5 separate regions of the Homo sapiens genome follow, and all the other regions are linked to region 1. The links are contacts of gene promoters, found by promoter capture Hi-C in blood cells and fetal thymus (Javierre and others, 2016). All regions are on one chromosome and are shown on one strand. Each heading gives the region's core, a stretch centred on a gene start or on the middle of the fragment in contact. The rest is flanking DNA. Distances are from core to core; before and after follow the strand shown.

Region 1 (4,167 bases), core at 878-3,377:
CGTGGCAGCACCATGTCCATCAGGCTGCGGCCGGCCTGGCTGTGGGGTGACTGCAGCATCCCAGGGGCGGGCATTCTCATCAGCGTTTTGGTCTCTGCAGCTGGCCTGGAGGAGTTTGTCTCACAGTCTGAGGACTGACTGCTCTGCACCCACCCAGGGTGGCGGAGCCCCATGCGCTGCCTGATCTTACCATTGTCCCCGCTGACGGCCTTTCCCACAGGACATCACAGGCAGCTCATGCTCCCCGCGTGGACCAAGCCTTAGAGAGATGAGAGTGTCGCTGACTGTGTGCCCGCACCGGCATCATCTGTGGGAACCCAGGCTCCTTGTCCCTACACCTGTGTGGAAACTGCTGCCCCCCCCCCCCCCAAGAGGAGAACCTGGGCAGCGCCAGGGTTTTGGGGAATCCTGTGCCTCCATCCGCCCACCCCATGATGCTTTTGTTCCCATCGAGTCCCTTGTCTCCTGCGCAGGTGCAGCAGCCCCTCCCTCTCCCCTCGCATTGCTGCTAAAACGGGCAGAACCCTCGGGCGGGCGGCACACAGGGAGGGTGACCAGGCCTGGAGGCTGCAGTGCCCGGACCCCAGGGCAGCTTCCCGGAAGGTGACCCTGCAGTGTGGGCTCTCCCAGGTGAGAGAGTGGGTGGGACAGTCCTGGGGCCTGGAGAGCCCCACAGCCCAGGGCATGACAGCGAATGACCAGGCTCAGGAAGACCCGGGCACAGGGGCTGAGCTGGGACTGAGCCTTCCTGGGAGTGACCGTGAGTCCCACCTGGTGACCCCCTGGAGGAGTTAGGCCACTGTCCCCTGTGACTTCTAGGTTAAGTCACTCATTCCTAAAAATAATCATGGCTGGAGGAGACCAATGTCAGCTCAAAACCATGTGTCCCCCAGGAACACAACAGAAAAGAGAATCAGGTGACCAAGGAGAGTTTATTGGGGAGCAGGAGGAGGTGCTGAGAGGTTCAAGTCGAGGCCAAGTGACCCAGAGCAGAGAAGCTGGGAGGGAGGACAGGGGACCTAGCAGGCAGGTGGGCACCTGCTGGAAGGCAAGAGCTGGGGAGCTGCAAGGATGGAGGCTCCTGGGAGCAAGGAGGGGGGGTCACCTCAGCACAGGGGAGACACGGGGACCCGTCCTAGGTGGGGGAAGCCACCTAACCCAGGTCAGGAACTGAGCCCAGCTGGCCCAGGGCGGGTGCCCATCAGCAGCTGGACTCCTGGCCTGAGCAGAGGCCTCAGCAGGCCGGGCGGGAGCACGCGGGGCGGCAGAGGAGGGACACGCAGGAGGCCGGGCGGCAGCAGCTGGCCTGGCAGGAGGAGGCAGGGGCACAGCAGGAGGAGACAGGCATACAGCAGGCGGGCCGGCATACAGGGCGGCAGAGGAGGGACACGGAGGAGGAGGGTCTGCAGCAGGAGGTGGTGCAGCAAGCCGGCTGGCAGCTAGACTGCTGGCAGCATGAAGTGGAAGCCCCAGAGCAGACGGGCACACAGCAGATGGGCTTGCAGCAGACAGGCTTGCAACGGACGGGCACGCAGCAGGCCTGCTGGCAGGGGGAGGAGGTGCAGCAAGCTGGATGGCAGCTAGACTGCTGGCAGCATGAAGAGGAATCCTCAGAGCAGGTGGGCACATAGCACACAGGCTTGCAGCAAACAGGCACACAGCAGGACTGCTGGCTGGAGGAAGAGGCACAGCAAGTTGGCTGGCAGCTAGACTGCTGGCAGCATGAAGAGGAATCCTTAGAGCAGGTGGGCAGGCAGCACACAGGCTTGCAGCAGACGGGCACGCAGCAGGCCTGCTGGCAGGGGGAGGAGGTGCAGCAAGCCGGCTGGCAGCTAGACTGCTGGCAGCACGAGGGCGTGCAGGAGCTGGTGCAGCCTGATTGGCAGGGGCTGGGCTCACAGGCTGCCTGGCAGCAGGGGCTGGACACACGGCTCACTGGGGTGCAGACCAGGGTCAGGCAGGGGGCCGGGGCGCAGCAGCTGAGGGCGCAGCAGTGGGGCTCACAGCAGCTCTCTGGGCAGGCATCCACCTGCCAGGAGTCGGAGCAAGCGCTGGAGCAGACGGACATGGTGGACGCGGCCATGCTGGGGTGGGGAGGAGGTGAGCTGCGGGAGGTGTGAGTGAGTGAGTGTGGGAGTCAGTGTGTGTGTGAGTGACTGAGTGTGTGAGTGAGTGTGTGAGCTTCGTGGGGCTCTGCTTTTATACCCCTTCTGGCCTTGTTGTTCCAGGGCCCACAGCGTCCCCTTCCTGGTTGCTGAGAGGTGGCGTGTGTCATGACTAGGGATGTTTGTTTGCCTGTGATGTGGCCCAGGTCATAAATCTCCTGTCCTGTCTGGGCTGTAGCCTGTCCCATGTGGATCCCTGGGGGCAAGAGTGGAGGTGGACCTGGTCCCAGCACGCCACCAGTGCAGTCCGGGTTGTAAGAAGGGGGCTGCGGAGGCAGGGGTGGCCCTTCAGCCTTATGCAAAGTGTGGCATGCCAGGGTGAGAGCTGTCCCACTCACGATCGTGGGGGCGTCTCCTCCCTAAAGCGGGTCCTCACTGAAGAGGCAGAAGCAGCTGGTAGAAGCACAGGATCACTGGAGCAGCCGGAGAGAAGGTGCAGCAGTGGCCAGCGAACCCCACAGTGGTGGCCCTGCACATTCCTTCCCCCATCCCCATCACTGAAGAAATTAGAGCCCCAAACAGGGAGAAGGGGAGCAAGGAAGGAGAGGCCATGCCCCTCCCCACGGCCTTCCCCGAGGTCCACTCAGACGTTGGTGTGGGAACGCTGGGGATAGGACTGGGTTTCGGACAGGAAAGAAAAGTTTTGAACTGGCCCATGGATTTGGTTCTGCTCTTAAAGGCCATAGCTTTATGATGTGCTTCAACCATAGATAACTCAAGTCCCGTTATCAATATTCTTAAATTTATTTTTTTTTTTTTTTGTACAGATGGCGTCTCAAGTGATCCCTCCTGCCTTGGCCAAAGTACTGGGATTGCAGGCGTGAGCCCGGTGCCTGGCCATCATCAGTATTTCTGCACCACGTGTCTTCCCTGTTCCTGTTCATTGTCCTTGCTGTCCTCAGCTTCCTTTCTTCAAACGTAAGCTGCATGTGAGCAGGGAGTGTGTTTGTCTTGTTCACCACTCAGTCTTCAAAGGCCTAAAATCATGCCTGGCCCAAGGAAAAGCCTTTATAAAAATGGGCTGAAATAATAAACTTTTTTGGAGAAATTATTGAAGAGTAATTTTGAGCTCTGAACGCGATTCCATTGTGCCACCTTTTTCTTATGCTGTATAAAATGCTCTGTCAAGTTCTCCTTTCGTGTGTGGGGAACTGGCTTACATCAGACTGGCCATCTAGCTGAGAAATATTAGGAAATCTGGTTTACAAACAAAATCTCTGTTCGAAGGGGCCGGGAGGTATCAAGACAGCTGAGACTTGAGTGAGTGAATCCGCATTAGAGAGAAACTGCACAGAAGTGAGTCCAATATTCCTTGTGGATTTTCTTACTGAGGCATTTACCAATTTACAGACCACAGCCAAGAGGCCGAGAGCCTGATCAGCTGAGCAGAGCTTTTAGTAGTCTCATGGAATTAGAAGAAAAAAACCACAGAGTTCAGGACCTGACAAGGTGGAGGGATTCTAGCAAAAACACCCTAGGCTTTCAGTTGGAAATGCTGAATGTAAGTGAAGGGCTACTCCCTAGGAGGAAGGAAAAACCAGAAAGAATGAAACCTATCTTTAAATAAACTCGCACTGAACTCATATGATCTGCCTGTAGCCTAACTGCCTCCCAGAAACAAAAGTGATCTCTTCTGGAGACAGCAGCATCAACAGAGGCTCAAATCATCTTATAAATTTTCATAAAGTCCTTCATGCAGTCAAAAAATTACTAGGGATATTAGAAGACAAGACCAACTGACCAAAAGACCAAGAGGAAAAAAACAAACAAGAGAAACAGACGTGCAGGAGATCTAGATATTAGAATTGTGAAACTGGAATTTAATGCTGATTAACTTGCTCAAGAAAATAGAGAACAAATGGAGAATTTCAGTGTCAAACTGGATTTATTAAATGGAATCAAACAAAAATTCTGGAAACGAAGAACACAATAGCTGAAATTAAGAACTAGGTAGCTTAGCTTTACAACATATAGACAAAACCAAAGAGAAGATTAGTAAAGG
Region 2 (3,945 bases), core at 1-2,500, 190 kb after region 1:
CCTGCCTGATGGCTTGTTGATCCCAGACTGCCTCCAAGTATTCTGGCCTCCATATTGGTGTGCTACGCTTGTTATCTTAAGGTGTTTTTAAAACCCGGTTTTCTAAGGACACAGATGCAGGATGTGCCCTCCGGCAGCCAGGTGCTGACTGGGGCTCAGGGTCTGTGTGGGTGGGTGCGGCTGTGAGTGTGGACGGGCGTGTGTGTAGGAGTGACTTCCTAGAATGAATCCAAGAGGAGCCTCTTTGGGGAAGGTGGTGGGGCCAGGTGGGAAGGCTCTGGCTCTGTGGGGAAGGTGGTGGGGCCAGGTGAGAAGGCTCTGGCTCTGTGCACATTTCTGTAATATCTAAATATTCCAGGTTTCAATCATGAATTACTTCTTTTCTAGAAGGACCAAAAGGGATCATTTGCGATTATGAGCTATTTTTCTTCTTATGATTTTCTAGTACATTTTTAAAAATCTGATAAAGTGGACAGGCGCAGTGGCTCACACCTGTAATCCCAGCACTTTGGGAGGCTGAGGTGGGCAGATCACCTGAGGTCAGGAGTTCGAGACCAGCCTGACCAACATGGAGAAACCCCATCTCTACTAAAAATACAAAATTAGCCGGGTGTGGTAGCGGGCGCCTGTAATCCCAGCTACTCAGGAGGCTGAGGCAGGAGAATTGCTTGAACCCGGGAGGCAGAAGTTGCGGTGAGCCAAGATCACACCATTGCACTCTAGCCTGGGCGACAAGAGCAAAACTCCGTCTCAAAAAAAAGAAAAAAAAAAGTCTTAAACTAGGACTATGCTTTTGGAGCATGTCGCAGGGATCTGAGGCTTGGGGTAAGCGTCGGAGACTGGCTCATTTGGAGCTTTTGGAGCATGTCGCAGGGATCTGAGGCCTGGGGTAAGCCTCGGAGACTGGCTCATTTGGAGCTTTTAAAGCGTGTCGCGGGGACCTGAGTCCTCACAGACTGGCTCATTTGGAGCTTTTGAAGCGTGTTGCGGGGACCTGAGTCCTCGGAGACTGGCTCATTTGGAGCTTTTGGAGTGTGTCGCGGGGACCTGGGGCCTGGGGTAAGCCTTGGAGACTGGCTCATTTGGAAAGGGCTCACCAGGCTGCAGTCACTGTGTGGACTTCCCCAAGGGCCACCCTGTGCCCTGCTTAACATTTTGCCAAAGACAGAAATGGCAAGTTCAAAAAAGTGAGGTTGACAAAGTGAAGTGATAACCCACAGAATCAAAGAAAATATTTGCAAACTATCCATATGGCAAGGGATTCATAACCCAAATATATGAGGAGCTCAGACAACTCAATGGCCAAAAAAAAAAAAAAGCAGCCAGGTGCAGTGGCTCACACCTGTAATCCCAGCACTTTGGGGGGCCAACACAGGTGGACTGCTTGAGCCCAGGAGTTTGAGACCAGCCTGGGCAACATGGCAAAACCCTGTCTCTACAAAAAATACAAAAATTAGCCAGGCGTGCTGTTGCACACCTGTGGTCCCAGCTACTCCGGAGGCTGAGGCGGGAGGATTGGTGATTGATTGCTTGAGCCCGGGAAGCAGAGGCTGCAGGGAGCCATGACTGTGCCACTGCACTCCAGCCTGGGCAACAGAGTGAGACCCTATCTCCAAACAACAATAACAAACAATAATCATCCGATTAAAAATGGGTAAAAGATGTGAACAGACTTTTCTCAAAAGAAGACATACAAAGGCCAACAGGTGTTTTAAAATATGCTCAACATCACTAATCAGCAGAGAAATGCAAATCAAACCACAGTGCATTACCATCTCAGCCCAGTGAAAATGGCTTGTATCAGAAAGACAGGCAATAACAGACGCTGGTGAGGGTGTAGAACACTGTGGGTGGGAAGGTAGCACAGTACAGCCCCTATGAGAAACAGTACGAAAAGCACAACTACCATGTAATCCAGCAATTCCACTACTGGTATTTATCCAAAAGAAAGGAAATTAGTATGTCAGAGATCTCTGCACTCCTGTGTTTATTGCAGCACCGTTCACAATAGCCAAGATACGGAATCAACCTAAGGGCTTATCAGTGGATGAATGGATAAAGAAAATGTGGTAAATATACACAATGGAATATTATTCAGCTATCGAAAAGAATGAAATCCTGTCATTTTCAGCAACATAGATGGAACTGGGGGTCATTATGTTAAGCGCAATAAGCCAGGCACAGAAAGACCAACATCTCACGCTGTCACTCGTGTGGAAGCTAAACCAGAGGCTCCCGTGGAGGCAGAGAGTGGAATGGCGGTTCCCAGAGGAAGGAGGCGGAGGGGCGATAAAGGAGGGAAATCTAAACGTGTTTCTCGTCACTGAGCTGTACGCTTTAAAATGGTGCAGATGGTACATTTTATATGTATGTTATTCCTCAATTTAAAAATTAATTTTAAAAGCGAGGTTAATGTTGCAAATGTTGTCACTGAGGCACCCACGTGTTTACCTTAAATTGCGTTTTGTGGCACTCAGGGACAGGCAGGCTATTTAAAAAGTGTGCATTTTTTCAGCTTCACTAGAAATAGAATTTGTGGCAGTTTGTGGACTTTGTCACGAATCAAGCTTTCCTTTGGGAAGATCTTTCCTGTGTGGGCTTGGGTGAGTGCCTTTGCCTGCTGGAGGGAGGGGGAGCCTGCCTCAGTGGTGGTGGGGGCTGTGGGGATGGAGTCTTTATCCCATAAGGAGCTCTCAGTGTGCCCAGGCATCTCATAGGGATTGTACCCACCATCCCCATGGTGGGCTGATTCCGGGTCTCACCAACAGCCCTCATGACCCACCTGCTGGGCACCATGAGCCCGCCCCAGCTGCCCTGCAGATCACAGATGCCGGAAAGGCTCCCGGTGCCTGCTCCTGCTCCTGCAGCTGAGCAGCCAGCCACACCCGCTCCTCCTCCCCAGGTCCACAGCCGCCAAGTTCTGAGTCTTCCCCACCCCAAGCCTGTCCCTTTCTCCACCAAGGGCCAGCACAGCCATCTGGGTTGTCCACACCAACTCCCCTCCACAGTCCTCATTCCTGAAGGCACCCCTCCCTACTCAGCCCTGCCGCCTCTTCCTCTAAGGGACCCCTCCTGGACAGGGTTCTCAAAGTCCAGTGCACACAAAACCCTGGGGGTTCCAGCTTGTGAGGTCAGCATGGGCTGGGAGTGCCCTGACCCCACTTTGAGAAACACCACAGCTCCATCCCCAGCAGAGGTGCTGGTCCCCCCAGGGTCCTTCTCCATCTTGGAGGGACATGTGCCCCTCACTTGCTCCTACTCAGGATCTAGGCCTCCTTGCTGCACCCAGCACAGCTGCCCTGAACTCCCCCTCCCCTCCGCCGCAGCCTCCCCTCCGCCGCAGCCTCCCCTCTGCCACAGCCTCCCCTCCGCCACAGCCTCCCCTCCGCTGCAGCCTCTCTGGCCTCCTGTGAACTGCTTGGCTGTTCCTAAGCCTTGGTCCCTGGAAAATCCCAGTTCCAGCTCAGCGCCCACATCCAGGTGATGCTCAAATGGGCCCAGCCTCAACTCTCAGCCCACAGAGCTCAGAGGACGGCTGAGGCCTCTGGTCAGAAGACCCCAGGCTTCCCCGAAGGAAGGGACACCTCACGAGGACAGCCTGTCACCACAGTCCTAATGGACTTCCAGGGACCACAGTGCCAGCGCTTTCCATCAGAATGGCTGACAGTATTAGAGATCATACATCATTCATTTGCCTCACGAACCCCGAGGGAGTGCTTGCTCCAGAGAGACCCCTGGGCTCCCAGGGCCTGGCACTGGTGACAGTGGCATGGGAGGGGCACATGAGCCGGGTGGCACAGCAAGGCAGCACCGTGACCCTAGGGGTGCTGTGGGCGGAGAAGATGGGGGCAGTCCTGGGCTGCTGAGCTTCTCTGAGGGGTCATCGTCCTTCAGGCAAGTGGCAGGAAGTGGCCCACAGGCTTCCAAGCTGCGGGAGCAGAGTGA
Region 3 (4,336 bases), core at 778-3,277, 240 kb after region 1:
CATCAATTATAAGAACTTTATAGTATATTCTAACATAGACAATCACTTTTACAACATAAACTTTGACCTTATTTAACTAGGAAAATAAAAGAATGTTGGAAAATATTCAAATACAGAAGTATATAAAATAAAAAGCAAATACCTCCCTCACTCCCCCTCCCAAAATCACCTCCTTGAGGTAACCAGAGTTAAGTTTGGTTATTGTTCCAGCTTTTCTCTATGTGTGTATAAATTCACATACTCTAATCTACAAAACTGGATTTCTAAAAATTCAAATGTATCATGGCATTGCTGAGAATTTTAAAACACCTAAATAAATGGAGAGACAGTCCATGTTCATGGATTAGAGCACTCAGTACTGATATGATGGCAATATCCCTCAAACTTATCTAAAGATTCAATGTAGTCTCAATCAAAATCCCACCAGGCATTTTGTAGAAATTGACAAGCTGACCCTAAAATGTAATGGAAATGCAATGGCCTAGTAAACAATCTTGAAAAAGAACAAAGTTGGCGGACTTAAATTTCCCAATTTTAAAACTTACCATGAAGCTCCAGTAATCAAGACAGTGTAGTAATGGCCTAAGGATAGGCATAGATCAATGGAATGCAATTCAGAGTCCAAAAATAAATCCTTGCATTTATAGTCAACTGATTTTTGACAAAGGTGCCAAAATTATGCAATGGGGAAAGAACTGTCTTTTCAACAAATGGTGCTGAGACAACTGGATAACCACATACAAAAGAATGAAACAGACTCCCACCTAACTCCATACATGACACTAAGTCAATCAAAATAGATCAAAGGCCTAAATGTAAAAGTGAAAAAACACAAAACTTCTACAAGCAAACATAAGAGAAAATCTTTGCAACCTTGGGTTATATACAACACCAAAAGCATGCTCTATATAAGAAAAAAAATGCAAAATCACACTTCATCAAAATTAACAACTTTTTAGTTTCAAAAGACTCTATTAAGAAAACAAAATGGAGAGTTGCAGATTGGAAGAAAATATTTAAAAATCCTATGTCTAATGAAGGACTTGTATCAAAATATATTTTAAAAACTCTTAACGTTCCATCAACAAGAAAACAACCGAATATAAAAATGGGGAAAAGTTCTGAAGTTCACCAAAGAAGATACATGAACGGCCAATAAGCCCATTAAGAGATGCTCAACATCATTAGTCGTCAAGGAAATCCAAGTCAAATCTGTAAGGAGACCCCACTTTACACCCACAAGAACAGCTGTTATCAGACAACAGCAGTGTTGGTGTGGAAGTGGAGAAACTGGAATGCTCATACACTGCTGCTGGGAATGCAAAATGGTGAGCTACTCTAGGAAGATAGTCTGATAGTTTCTTAAAACATTAAACGCAAATTTACTCCACACCCCAGCAATTCCACACCTCTATATCTGGTCTAGAGAAATGAACTCCATGTCCACACAGACAGTGTGACAAGACAAGTGTTTACAGCAGCATTGCTCAAAAGAGCCAAAAAGTAGGAAGCCCAAATGTCCATCAACTGGGGAATGGAAAAGGAAGGAGCTGCTGATACATGGTATAACATGGATGAACTGCAAATACATTCTGCCAAGTACAAGAAGCCAGGCACAGATGATTAGACAGTGTATGATTCCACACATAGGAAAAGTCAGAAAAGGCAAATCTATAGTCAGAGGAAAGAGCAGGGATTGCCTGGGGGTTGGAATGGGAACTGTCTGCACATAGACATAAGAATCTTTTTGGAAATGTTCTAAAACTGGACTGTGGTGATGACTACAAAACTCTAGAAATTTACTAAAACCACTAACTTTTATACTTAATGCAAGTAAAACTTACAGTATGTAAATTATCTCAATAAAGCTGTTTAGGCTGGGTGCCTTGGATCCTGCCTGTAATCCCAGCACTTTGGGAGGCTGAGGCAGAAGGATTGCTTGAGGCCAGGAGTTCGAGACCAGCCTGGGAAACAGAGCAAGACCCCATCTCTACAAAGCATTTTAAAAACTAGCTGGGCGTGGTGGTGTGCACCTGTGGTCCCAGCTACTTGTGGGGCTGAGGTGGGAGGATTGTTTGAGCCTGGGAGTTTGAGGCTGCAGTGAGCTGTGACCAGGCCACTGAACTTCAGCCTGGGTGACAGAGCTAGACCATGTCTCCATAAGAAAGGGAGGGGAGGGGAGGGGAGGGAAGAAAGGAGGGGAGAAAGGAAGAGAGAGAGGAGGGAGGAGAGGAGAGGAAGGAAGGACGGACAGACGGTTCCAGACCTATTATTCTAGAATCCGCCTTTTCCATTTATATTGTGTACATCTTTCCATGCCAGGATGAAAATTCCACCTGAACTGTTTTACAGCTACATGGCATTACTCTATATAGATGCTCCATAAATTATGTGGAACAGTGATGTTTCCTTTTTTATTATTATTACTGCAATGAATGTGGCAATAACTTCTTCATATAGGGATCTTTGTGACACTTTTGTTGAAGAAAATGCTATGGTGAGATTACATACAATACAAATTATAAACACCTATTTTATTATCTCGGGTTTATTTCAGCAAGGCATAATACTGCCAAGAGATGCCCTGTGACAGTCTTCAGTCAACAAGAAACCTGGACATAAAGGGAGGCTGCTGTGCCCCGGACACTGGCCCCCAGTGTGAGAAGGGCTCCTGGTAGAAGCCGCGGCAGCCTGGGAGCCCTCAAGCTGGCTGCCATGAGCCAGCTGGAGAACCTGGGAGCATCCATCCACCAACTGGGCCCCAAACACACCATTCAGTAAAGGAAGGTCCTTCTTATTTCACCACAGCCTCTAGAACCACTGGTCTGGGGAGGTGACAGCAGTCAGGCATGAACCAGACAAGAAGGTCACCAAGCCAGCTGATTTGGGAATGCTGGGGCAGGACACAGAGGACAGCAAGCGCCAAGGGACTCCACGCCTTGTCCGGCCACTGGGGATGAACAGCTGTCTAGGACTCCTTCTGTCCCACATAAGTGCATCAATGAAAGAGGGCACCCACCCTCTCTGCAGCTACACCCCCGTCACCGTGGCTTAGTGGCAATGGGGTCACGGGCCATGGACCCTAGAGCTGGGCAAGACCTGTAACCATCTGTCTAGAAGATGCTGATAAACCTCTCTGTTTTGATCCAAATAAGTCAAAGAGAGGCAAAGTGACTGGGCCAAGAGCAGCAGGCCATGCTAGCACCCACAGCCACGGTGGCCACATCCCCTGGTGTGCCGCCATCCCAGCCACGCTCGATTTGATTGCAGGCTCAGACTCCACCATGAGCGTGGCAGGGTCAGCAGAGTTATTCCCGGTGTTTAAAGACACAGCCTGCGGACTCTCATTATTTAGTCCTCTCATTCACTAATCTGTTCTATTCTCCATCCTAATCCCTCAACCCTGGTCTTCCAAGGTAAAGATTTCAGTGCATCTTTGACATGTCTGTATCTTCAGACAAGGGCCCTAACATATCAAAGGCACTTAGTGTTTGTTGCTTAGATATCTAAAATGACATTTTCTTCACTGGCCCTTAAGGCAAGCACAACAGCAAAAACCAACAGCCGTTCGACTTCTGTGAGGCAAGCACGGGTTTTAGAAATACTAGGGTAGAGAGGCGGCCCTGGAAGCCATCAAAGAATAAAGAGAAAAAGAAGAAACTTATCACCAAGGAGCAAAGACTTGGCCAGATGTCTGCCAAAATAGCAGGGTGAGACAAATCGATGGGAGGACAGTTAATTCCCTAATAGGCATTTTAAGTGCACTTGTAAACGGCCTCTTGTTTGTGAAGGGTCTGGAACAGGACCAAAACCCACAAACTCACTAGGATCTTCAAGCAGGGGAATTCCAAACTAATGCAAAAAGCCTTGTTCAAACACAGAAGTGCTCTACCTAAAAATAGTTCTAATTACTTTTTAAGACAGGTTTTCAAAATATTGGTTTAATTTTACACTGTTTATTTAAAATTGGTAATAGTTACCCTAATCGATTTTTAACAATGAACATTTTTTTAAAACCACACTGGACGGCTCAACTGTTCCTTTAATGAGCTTCCAAATAGGCCTACGGAGGAGCCAACACCCCACAAATAACTGCAGACACGACAGGCGCCTTCAACCTCTACACACAGACAGGCCTCCCGCCACTCTGGGCCCCTGCAGCAGGCGTGCTGCCCCGCTGGCATGAGTGCAGGTGCGCCTGCATTAACACATGAAACAAGCAGGTTACACATCAGTTCATGTATATGATCTCCTGCTTCTACAGAAATAAAAAGAGCTGCCCCGATACAAGTATACAGCCGCACAGTCCACTAATGAGGACAGCCCAGACTGTGGG
Region 4 (4,460 bases), core at 1,251-3,750, 150 kb after region 1:
GAAACCCCGTCTCTACTAAAAATACAAAAAATTAGCCAGGCGTGTTGGCGGGTGCCTGTAGTCCCAGCTACTCAGGAGGCTGAGGCAGGAGAATGGCGTGAACCTGGGAGGCGGAGCTTGCAGTGAGCTGAGATCATGCCACTGCACTCCAGCCTGGGCGACAGAGCGAGACTCCATCTCGAATAAAAAAAAAAAAAGTCCTAAATACACTCAGATATTCAGGAAGATGTTACATCTACCAAACAAGGACAAGATGCTTTGAAAATGAACAATTAGAACAATGATCCCTAAAATGTCACAGATATTAAACATCTCATTGATATTTAAAATTAAACAGAGAGGCTTGAAGGTGAGTGTATTAGGGTTCCCTTAGAGGGACAGAATAGAATGAATATATATATATATATATATATATATATTTTGGGGGGGGTTACTAAGTATTAACTAACATGATCACAAGGTCCCACAATAGGCCGTCTGCAAGCTGAGGAGCAAAGAGATCCAGTCTGAGTCCCAAAACTGAAGAACTTGGAGTCCAGTGTTCAAGGGCAGAAAGCATCCAGCACAGCAGAAAGATGTAGGCTGGGAGGCTAGGCCAGTCTCGCCTCTTCACATTTTTTCTGTCTGCTTTATATTCGCTGGCAGCTGATTAGATGGTGCCCACTCAGATTAAGGGTGGGCCTGCCTTTCCCAGCCACTGACTCAAATGTGAATCTCCTTTGGCAACACCCTTACAGACACTCCCAGGATCAGTACTTTGCATCCTTCAATCCAATCAAGTTGACACTCAGTATTAACCATCACCATGAGGTTGAGAAATCGCTCTGATTTGGAACAAAACGTCAAAGAGATAAAAAAGAAATGAGGAAAAAATACCATAAATGACTGATCTAGTGAATGTAATCCCTGATGTGTGGGAGTCCCACAAAGCGGGACAGTGAGAATGATGAGCGGATGCACAAATAAACTCCTAAAGAGGAGCATTTCCCAAGGCTAAAGACACAGTCTTCAGGCTGAAAAGAACCAAGTGATGCCAAGAAAAATGAACGGAAAAATCCTAGATATGTCCTCTGTTGAAATGATATAACATCAAAGATAACAAGTGGTTCCCATGGGCTTCCAGAAAATCAAACAAACAAACAAATGAACAAGTCACCCACAAGCAATAAAAATCAGATTAGCATCAGACATCTCATCAGCAGCACTGAAGGCTACAGACTCACAGAACAACACTCATGATGTCCGGGAGGTCAGCATTCAGCCCACGCTTTCAAAGATGAGCATGCTGTAAATAAACAGGTTAAACAGAAGATAAGCAGTTCTTAAGATAAGCAGTAAACATGACAGCAAATTATTAACCATAAAACTATTAAGTAAGCATATGTGTTTTTCTAAGGCTAAGTAGCATGTATTTTATCCTCTGGGGGTGTGGTCATTTGCTTTTCTACATTTTTGTTTGTCTGTTTGTTTATAGAGAAGGGGTGGTCTTGCCATGTTGTCAGTCTAGCATCAAGCTTCTGGGCTCAAGTGATCCTTCCACCTCAGCCTCTCAAGTAGCTGGGACTACAGGTATGCACCACCATGCCAGGCTCTTTTCAAAATATTTTAAAGTAGTGGAAATATTTTTTCAAACTGAATCTGACCTAGAAGTCAAGTCTGTAAAACAGATTAAAACACAGCTTCTCTAATTTAAAGTGGGATGGAGAATCCAGACACCTATTAGTTTGTCCTCCTCCCCTCCCTTCCCTTCATCTCCCCTCGCCTCCTCTCCCCTTCTCTCCTCTCTCCACACTTCTCTCTCTCTCCCCAGCTCACCCCCTTACCTAGGTAACATCTGAAATGTCTCCTAAGAACATGATTTTACAACCTTGTTGCTTTGAGTCCCTCTCTCTCCCCAAGCTCTAAGAGATTACGGAATTAGCATGTGCATCATTAGGCCAGGGAACAGAGCTGATAGCAAAGAATGGCACTCACCCCTATGTCTCTAACGTATAACTGTTAACAACATATGTTGTATCAGCCATTACTCACAGCTGACTTTCTCTATAATAAGCTTATTTTTTCAAGAATCCTTATGTCCCCATCCGTACACTAAGACCCTAAGAACTGAGAGACAGAACATCAAGGACCTATTCATCCATATTGTTCCAATTGCAAAAATGCATGAGGACATTATGTATTGATAAAAGATTCAACTCATCAAAGATATGAGAATTAGAAACATATATGCACCATACAAAGAGTCCCCACATATATGAAGCAAACATTGACAGAATTCAAGTGAGAAATAGTTCTACAATAGTTGGAGACTTTAATATTTCATTTTCAATAATGAACAGAACATCTAGTCAGAAGGTCAATAGGAAATAGAGAACTGAACCCACTATAAACCAGTTACTCACAAAAGATATGTATAGACACTCCACCCAACAACAGCTTTACTGGTGAATATCACCAAACATTTTTTTAAAATTTAACAAAAACCTCCTCAAGTTGTGAAAGAAAAAAATAGAAGGATCACTTTCTAACTCACTCTGTGAAGCAAACATTATGCTGATACCAAACCCACATAAGACATCAAAAGAAAAGAAAATCACAGACGAACATGACTTGTAAGTACAGATGCAAAAATTCTCAACAAAATACTAGCAAAGTGATTCCAACAGCATATTAAAAGGATTATATACCATGACCAAGTTGGATTTATCCCAGGAATGCAAAGATAGCTCCAGATTAAAAATAATCAATGTAGTATACCACACGAAGAGAATGAAGTGAAAAAACCCACATGATCTCAATTAACAAAGAAAAGGCTTTGACAAAGTCCAACACCATTTTATGATTTTAAAACACTCAGAAAACTAGAAATAGAAGGGAATTTCCTCAACATGCTAAACAGCATGTATGAAAAACCCACAGCTTGCATTATACTTGACAGTGAAAGACTGAAAGCTTTCCCCCTAAGATTAGGAACAAGACAGGATGTCCCTTTTCACCACCAATATTCAACATTGTACTGGAAGTTCTAGCCAGAGCTATTAAACAAGAAAAATAAATAAATAAAAGTCATTAAAATTGGAAAGGAAGAAGTAAAATTATTTCTATTCACGGGTGACATGATCATGTCTATAGAAAATCCCAAAGAATCCACAAGAAAGCTACTAGAGCTTTATTAAAGAATTCACCAAAGTTTCAGGGTACAAGATCAACATACAAAAATCATGCATGTTTCTATACACCAGCAATGAAAAATCTGATAAGGAAATTAAGAAAAACAATTCCATTTCAATGGCATCCAAAAGAATAAAATACCTAGTAACAAATATAACCAAGGAGGTAAGAGACTTGTACAATGATAACTGTAAAACATTGCTGAAAGAATTAAAGAAGACCTAAATAAATGGAAAGACATCCATGTTCATGGATTAGAAGACTTAATGTTGTTAAAATGGCAGTACTACCCAAAGAAATCTACAGATTCAATGCAGTCCTTATCAAAATTCCAAGTCTTTTTTTTTTCCAGAAATGAAAAAGCTGATCTTCAAGCACATATGGATTATAGGAACTCAGAATAGCCAAAACAATCTTGAAAAAGAGGGACAAAGCTGGAGGATTCACACTTCCTGATTTCAAAACGTACTACAAAGCTACAGTAATCAAAACAGTGTGGTACTGGCCTAAGAACAGACATATGGACCAATAGAATAGAACTCAAAGGTCAGAAATAAACTCATACATTTATGGCCAACTGATTTTCAACAAGAGTGTCAAGATAATTCAATAAGGAAAGAATAATCTCTTCAACAAATGGTGTTAGGAAAACTAGATTTACAGATGGGAAAGAATGAAGTTGGGCCCTTACCTAATATCATATATAAAAATTAACTCTAAATGGATCAATGCCCTAAATATGGTAGCTGGAACCATCAAAATCTTAGGAGAAAAGATGGGAAAAATGCTTTATTCCCTTGGATTTGACACTAGGTTCTTAGATATTACGCAAGAAGCACCAGCAACAAAAGAAAAAATAAATTGGACTTCATCAAAATTTAAAACTTTTTTGAATCAGAGAACACTGTCAAGAAAGTGAAAAGACAATCCACAGAATGAAAGAAAATATTTGCAAATCATACATCTGACTGTGACTCAACAACAAAAAGACAACCCAACTAAAAAATAGGCAAAAGATTGAGTAGACATTTCTCCAGTGAAGGTATGCAAATGGCCAATAAGTACATGAAAAGATGCTCAACAGTATTACTCATTAGGAAAATGGAAATCAAAACCACAATGAATGCTACTTCACACCTACCAGGATGGCTGTAATTTTTTTTTTTTAAAGGAAAATAACAAGTGTTGGCAAAGATGTGGAGAAATTGGAACCCTCATACTTTACCAGTGGGAATGTAGAATAGTGCAACCACTGCGGAAACATTTTGGTGGTTCCTTAAAAGTTAAAC
Region 5 (4,220 bases), core at 1,236-3,735, 210 kb after region 1:
TGCGGCTTCAGGGAGAAATTCAGCCACACTGAGACCAGCACCGTAAGCCATTTGGAAAGTGGGGGCAGTGGATGAGGAGGGGCAGTGGCAGGCAGGGGAATGAAGCCCAGGTTGACGAGAAAGAGTGAAATTTGAGTAACTGCAAGGAAAGGCCAAGAATCCCACAGTCAGCTCACGGCCTTGGACGTGGCTCACAGACAGGCAGGGGGAGACTTCGCAGGCTTCAGAGGGTGTCAGGGACCAGGACCCTGGAAGCAAAGGTTGGGAGCAAGGAAGCAGCGCGACCCCTCACACCCCACCTGGAGGCCTGGGTCGGGCCTGGGCGCCGGCACAGAGCTGGTGAACAGACATCCTTGGGGGAGCTCCCGCTGCAAGCACTGCGGCTGCCCAGGCAGGTCGGGGGAGACCCGGGTTCGGCTTCTTTCCAGACCTCGCAGTATTTCTGTGCCCTCACCTGGCTGTGAGCCACAGGTTCAGAGAGAGGCCAGGATTGGGGCAAGGGAGCCCAAGGAGAAGGCCGGATCCCCTCACGGGGGTGGCCCTGGATTCCTTGGCTGGGCAGAGCGTCACTGGGGATCTCCAGACAAGGGACACAGGCTTTGATTAAGGGGCCCCAGCGAGGATGTCTGTTCACCAGCTCCATGTCGGCGCCTTGGGCCCACCGAGGCCTCCAGGTGGGGTGTGAGGGGTGGCGCTGCTTCCTTGCTCCTAACCTTTGCTTCCAGGGTCCAGGTCCCTGACACCCTCTGAAGCCGGCGAGGTCTCCCCGTCCCTGCCTGTGGGCCACGTCCAAGGCTGTGAGCTGACTGCGGAATTCTTGGCCTTTCCTTGCAGTTACTCAAATTTCACTCCTTCTGGGCTGGTCCAGGAGACCCCAGCTTGGGACAGGGCCTGTGGCCCCTCCAGCAGCACGCACTGTGCCCACCCGCCACTGGTGAGGAGATTCCAGGAGAAACACTGCCACCCAAGCAGCACCCCACATGGCTGGCCTCCCCGCACCGGGCCGGCACCCCACAGTGCCAGTCACCCACCCCACTTGGCTGGCCTCTCTACACCGGGCCGGCACCCCACAGCGCCAGTCACCCACCCCACGCGGCTGGTCTCCCCGCACCGGGCTGGCACCCTGCAACGCCAGTCACCCACCCCACGCAGCTGGCATCCCCGCACCGGGCCGGCATCCCACAACGCCAGTCACCCACCCCACGCGGCTGGCCTCCCTGCACCGGGCTGGCACCCCGCAACGCCAGTCACCCACCCCACGAAGCTGGCCTCCCCGCACCGGTGCCAGCACCCCGCCGCGCCAGTCACCCAGAGTCCTCCTGCCCCAGGAATGAAACCATCCTCAGGCCGGGCGCTGTGTCCTCAGTGGTGGTGTCTAGGGATGGGGTACACAGCCCAGCCTCTGCCCAGGGCTCGGAAGCCCTTGGCCAAATCCCGGCTACTCCCTGCTCCGGCAGGCTGAGCGATGCCCGTGCATGCTGAGCCAACCAACCAACAAATGTCCCTGCCTTGTGTGCCGTGTGCATGCCGGGGCGGACGGCCTGCTTGCTATGGATGTGGGGCTCCCTGCAACCCCATGAGGCCCTGCAGCAGCCTGGCTGTGTCCCCGCACCCCTGTGTGTTGGCAGAGGTCAACACCACCGGACCCCTCCACGCTGGCCCCCTGCCTCTCCATTCCCGCTTCCTCCCTGTGAACGTGCTGTCATACCGACCCCTCCACACTGGCCCCCTGCCTCTCCATCCCCGCTTCCTCCCTGTGAACGTGCTGTCATTCCGACCCCTCCACACTGGCCCCCTGCCTCTCCATCCCCGCTTCCTCCCTGTGAATGTGCTGTCATTCCCGCTTCCTCCCTGTGAACGTGCTGTGCCCTAAAGCCACGCTTCCTCCAAAGGCTGCACTCCATCCGCCCAGGTGATAAGAGTCGCTCAGACACTGTTGCTTATACGGCCGCACACACATCTCTAGCTGGTTTCTTGTTCCAATAATACTGGTATTTTTTAAAAGCAAATTTGATTCCTTGATCCACCGTGGCTGGGTGTTTTGTAAAAGGTAGAATTAAATACCAGGTGTGTGTTAGATAATTGAACCAAGCTCACAAGGCACAGGTCAGTGAGTGTGACAATTGTCAGAGGCAGGCAGAGACCGTGATGGCCTCGGCTCTTACAGAGAACATTCCCCAAGGGAGCAAAGCCTGGCAGGAGGCCTCCCTTGGAATTCACCAGAAACTTCAGATGCCAGTTACAGGGGAGCATCGAAACCGAGAATGCCGCATTTATGCCCAGGCCCTCGCCCGCAGCGACCTAACCCCTTCCAGAGGCTCTGCTGGCTGGGGCTTGCACCTCTTCCCTGCAGCCGCTGGAGATCCCATGTCTGTTCCTGCACCCCGCAGGGTGAACCTTCAGAGGCCCAGCGCCAGGGTCCCTGTGCTGCTGAGAATGAAACCCGCCCTTGGGGGATGAAGTGCCTCTCCACCAGCTCCGGGGTCACAGTGTCGCTAAAACATCCGGCTGGGCTCTGCAAAATGGCGTCTTGGGGGCACAGCCTCTTCACAGCCACAGGGCCTCCCGGGAGGAGCACAGGCTTCTGGGTGTGCTCTGTCCCTGGGACCCTCAGCTCACAGGCCAGGAGGTGGGACCCCGGTGGCTGAGGAAATGGCCACACGCTCCCCATGTCCCGTGCGACTGCTATGGAAAGAGGTGATTCCCTAAAGGAAATGGGGGAGGGGGCGCCACCCAAATCAGGGAGAATGGGTGCTGTGGCCGAATACACAAACGTGTCGCCGTAGCATCTCACAGGCCCCACATCCAAAACAGGCCCCACATCCATTGCTCCAAACCTGCTCCCGGCCCCTCGGTCCTCCCCATGGCTCCAGCCGCCCCCTGCCCGGTGTCCCACTGGCAAGCCCTCGTCCTCCCTTTCTCCCTCCGCCCCCTCCAAGCCATTGGCCCATCCTGTGGATTCCACTCCGAATCCAACTCAGATTAATCAGCACAACCTGTGGACTCCACTTTGCATCCATCTCGGATCAATCGGCCCATCCTGTGGACTCCACTCCGAATCCATCTTGAGTGCACCTGCTGTCTCCCTCTCCATAGTGCCCCCTGGCGCCCCCGCCCCCACTTAAGCCTCCAGCCTCCCAGCCTCCCAGCCTCCTCCTCCCTCAACCCGACTCACCAGCAAGAGGGACCCCTTGAAGACCCGAGTCCCAGCGTGCGGCTCCTCAACCTCCTCCAGTCTCTCCTCGCAGGAGGGTAAGCTCCAAACCCCCAGGCTGCCCGACGGAGCCCACGGCACCAGACTTCTCCCCACCAGCTCTGCCCAGGAGGCCTCTGCAGGAGGCCCCGGCCCACTGGCTCCTGGACCCCTCACCCTCTGCTCAGCCCGGCCTTTGCCTGTGATGCTCCCAGAACGACCCTTTACAGCTACTGCAGATGGGAAGCCCCCTCCCCCCCGCCCGGGGCTGTGTGGGTTCATGGGGTGCGCCCTGGGCCGCTCCTCACCGCCTGGAGCGCTGGATGCTCCCTTCATCCATTTTCACTTGTGTATCGTCCATCTCCCCAAATCCACGAGGCCCACAGCTGCCGAGCGTTTTCTCCACTGTTATCCTAGCACCAAGCACAATGCCGGCCACCTGATGGGTAGTAAATAAGTGTAGAGAGAAAGAGAGGGAGAGAGGGAGAAACAGGAAGGAAGGAGAGTGGGAGGGAGAGAGGAAGGAAGGGAGGGAGGGACAAAGGGAAAGAGGGGGGAAGGAAAAGGGAACTTGTAAACTTCTAACATTTAACAATTTGTTGGCAGATTACTGCATAAAGATGTGATTTTTGGCAACAGGAGCCAGGAAATGCTCAGTGCTGCTTCATGTGCTGAGCCTCTGCCACTGCACATGGCCTCACTGCCCGGGGCCGACAAGCTATGTGTGCATGCGAGAGTACATGTGTGTCCATGAATGCGTGTGAGCATGAGTGCACGTGCATGTGTGAGTGCGTGTGCACGCATGCTTGTGTGCATGTGTGCTGTGTGTGCACGTGTATGTGCATGTGAGGGTATGTGCATGTGTGTGAGTGTACCTGTCTAACCAGCAACAGCCTCATTAGATTCCAAGGCTGCGTGAGTCACCTCCTGCCACAGGTAATTAAAACTGGGGAAAGGCCCGTGGCTTTGAATGGGGCAGATAGAATCTAGCCAGATAAAGGAAATGATTGCATCTCCAGGTGGCTGA

The links. The method cuts DNA at HindIII sites, captures the fragments that hold promoters and counts their contacts. A CHiCAGO score of 5 or more calls a contact.
Region 2: a contact is called between a fragment that was not itself captured here and the fragment with the promoter of KRTAP10-1 in region 1, in 5 of 17 cell types (total CD8 T cells, naive CD8 T cells, naive CD4 T cells and 2 more). The highest score is 8.4, in total CD8 T cells.
Region 3: a fragment that was not itself captured here is called in contact with the fragment with the promoter of KRTAP10-1 in region 1 in 4 of 17 cell types (naive CD8 T cells, total CD4 T cells, total CD8 T cells and 1 more); the score reaches 8.3 in naive CD8 T cells.
Region 4: a contact is called between a fragment that was not itself captured here and the fragment with the promoter of KRTAP10-1 in region 1, in 3 of 17 cell types (naive CD8 T cells, total CD8 T cells and naive CD4 T cells). The highest score is 6.0, in naive CD8 T cells.
Region 5: a fragment that was not itself captured here is called in contact with the fragment with the promoter of KRTAP10-1 in region 1 in 5 of 17 cell types (total CD8 T cells, naive CD8 T cells, total CD4 T cells and 2 more); the score reaches 9.7 in total CD8 T cells.

Annotation. Positions count from the first base shown.
Region 1 is chr21:44,538,068-44,542,234 of GRCh38, forward strand. It overlaps KRTAP10-1 (keratin associated protein 10-1), which reads right to left and starts at 2,128. Exons shown (of 1, transcript NM_198691.3): 1 at 914-2,128. The coding sequence starts at 2,083. The coding sequence ends at 1,235. The region is part of intron 2 of TSPEAR (thrombospondin type laminin G domain and EAR repeats); the gene reads right to left. RefSeq lists enhancers at 13-512, 866-1,530. The HindIII fragment of the contact is 15,900 bases long and covers 1-4,167 here.
Region 2 is chr21:44,724,185-44,728,129 of GRCh38, forward strand. No RefSeq gene overlaps it. Among named protein-coding and RNA genes, the nearest start is that of TSPEAR, 15 kb to the left of the region's middle. The HindIII fragment of the contact is 2,630 bases long and covers 1-2,565 here.
Region 3 is chr21:44,781,998-44,786,333 of GRCh38, forward strand. All of the region lies in intron 3 of UBE2G2 (ubiquitin conjugating enzyme E2 G2), which reads right to left. Among named protein-coding and RNA genes, the nearest start is that of UBE2G2, 18 kb to the right of the region's middle. The HindIII fragment of the contact is 5,266 bases long and covers 1-4,336 here.
Region 4 is chr21:44,689,322-44,693,781 of GRCh38, forward strand. All of the region lies in intron 1 of TSPEAR (thrombospondin type laminin G domain and EAR repeats), which reads right to left. Among named protein-coding and RNA genes, the nearest start is that of KRTAP10-12, 5.6 kb to the right of the region's middle. The HindIII fragment of the contact is 899 bases long and covers 2,052-2,950 here.
Region 5 is chr21:44,748,961-44,753,180 of GRCh38, forward strand. No RefSeq gene overlaps it. Among named protein-coding and RNA genes, the nearest start is that of TSPEAR, 39 kb to the left of the region's middle. The HindIII fragment of the contact is 6,978 bases long and covers 1-4,220 here.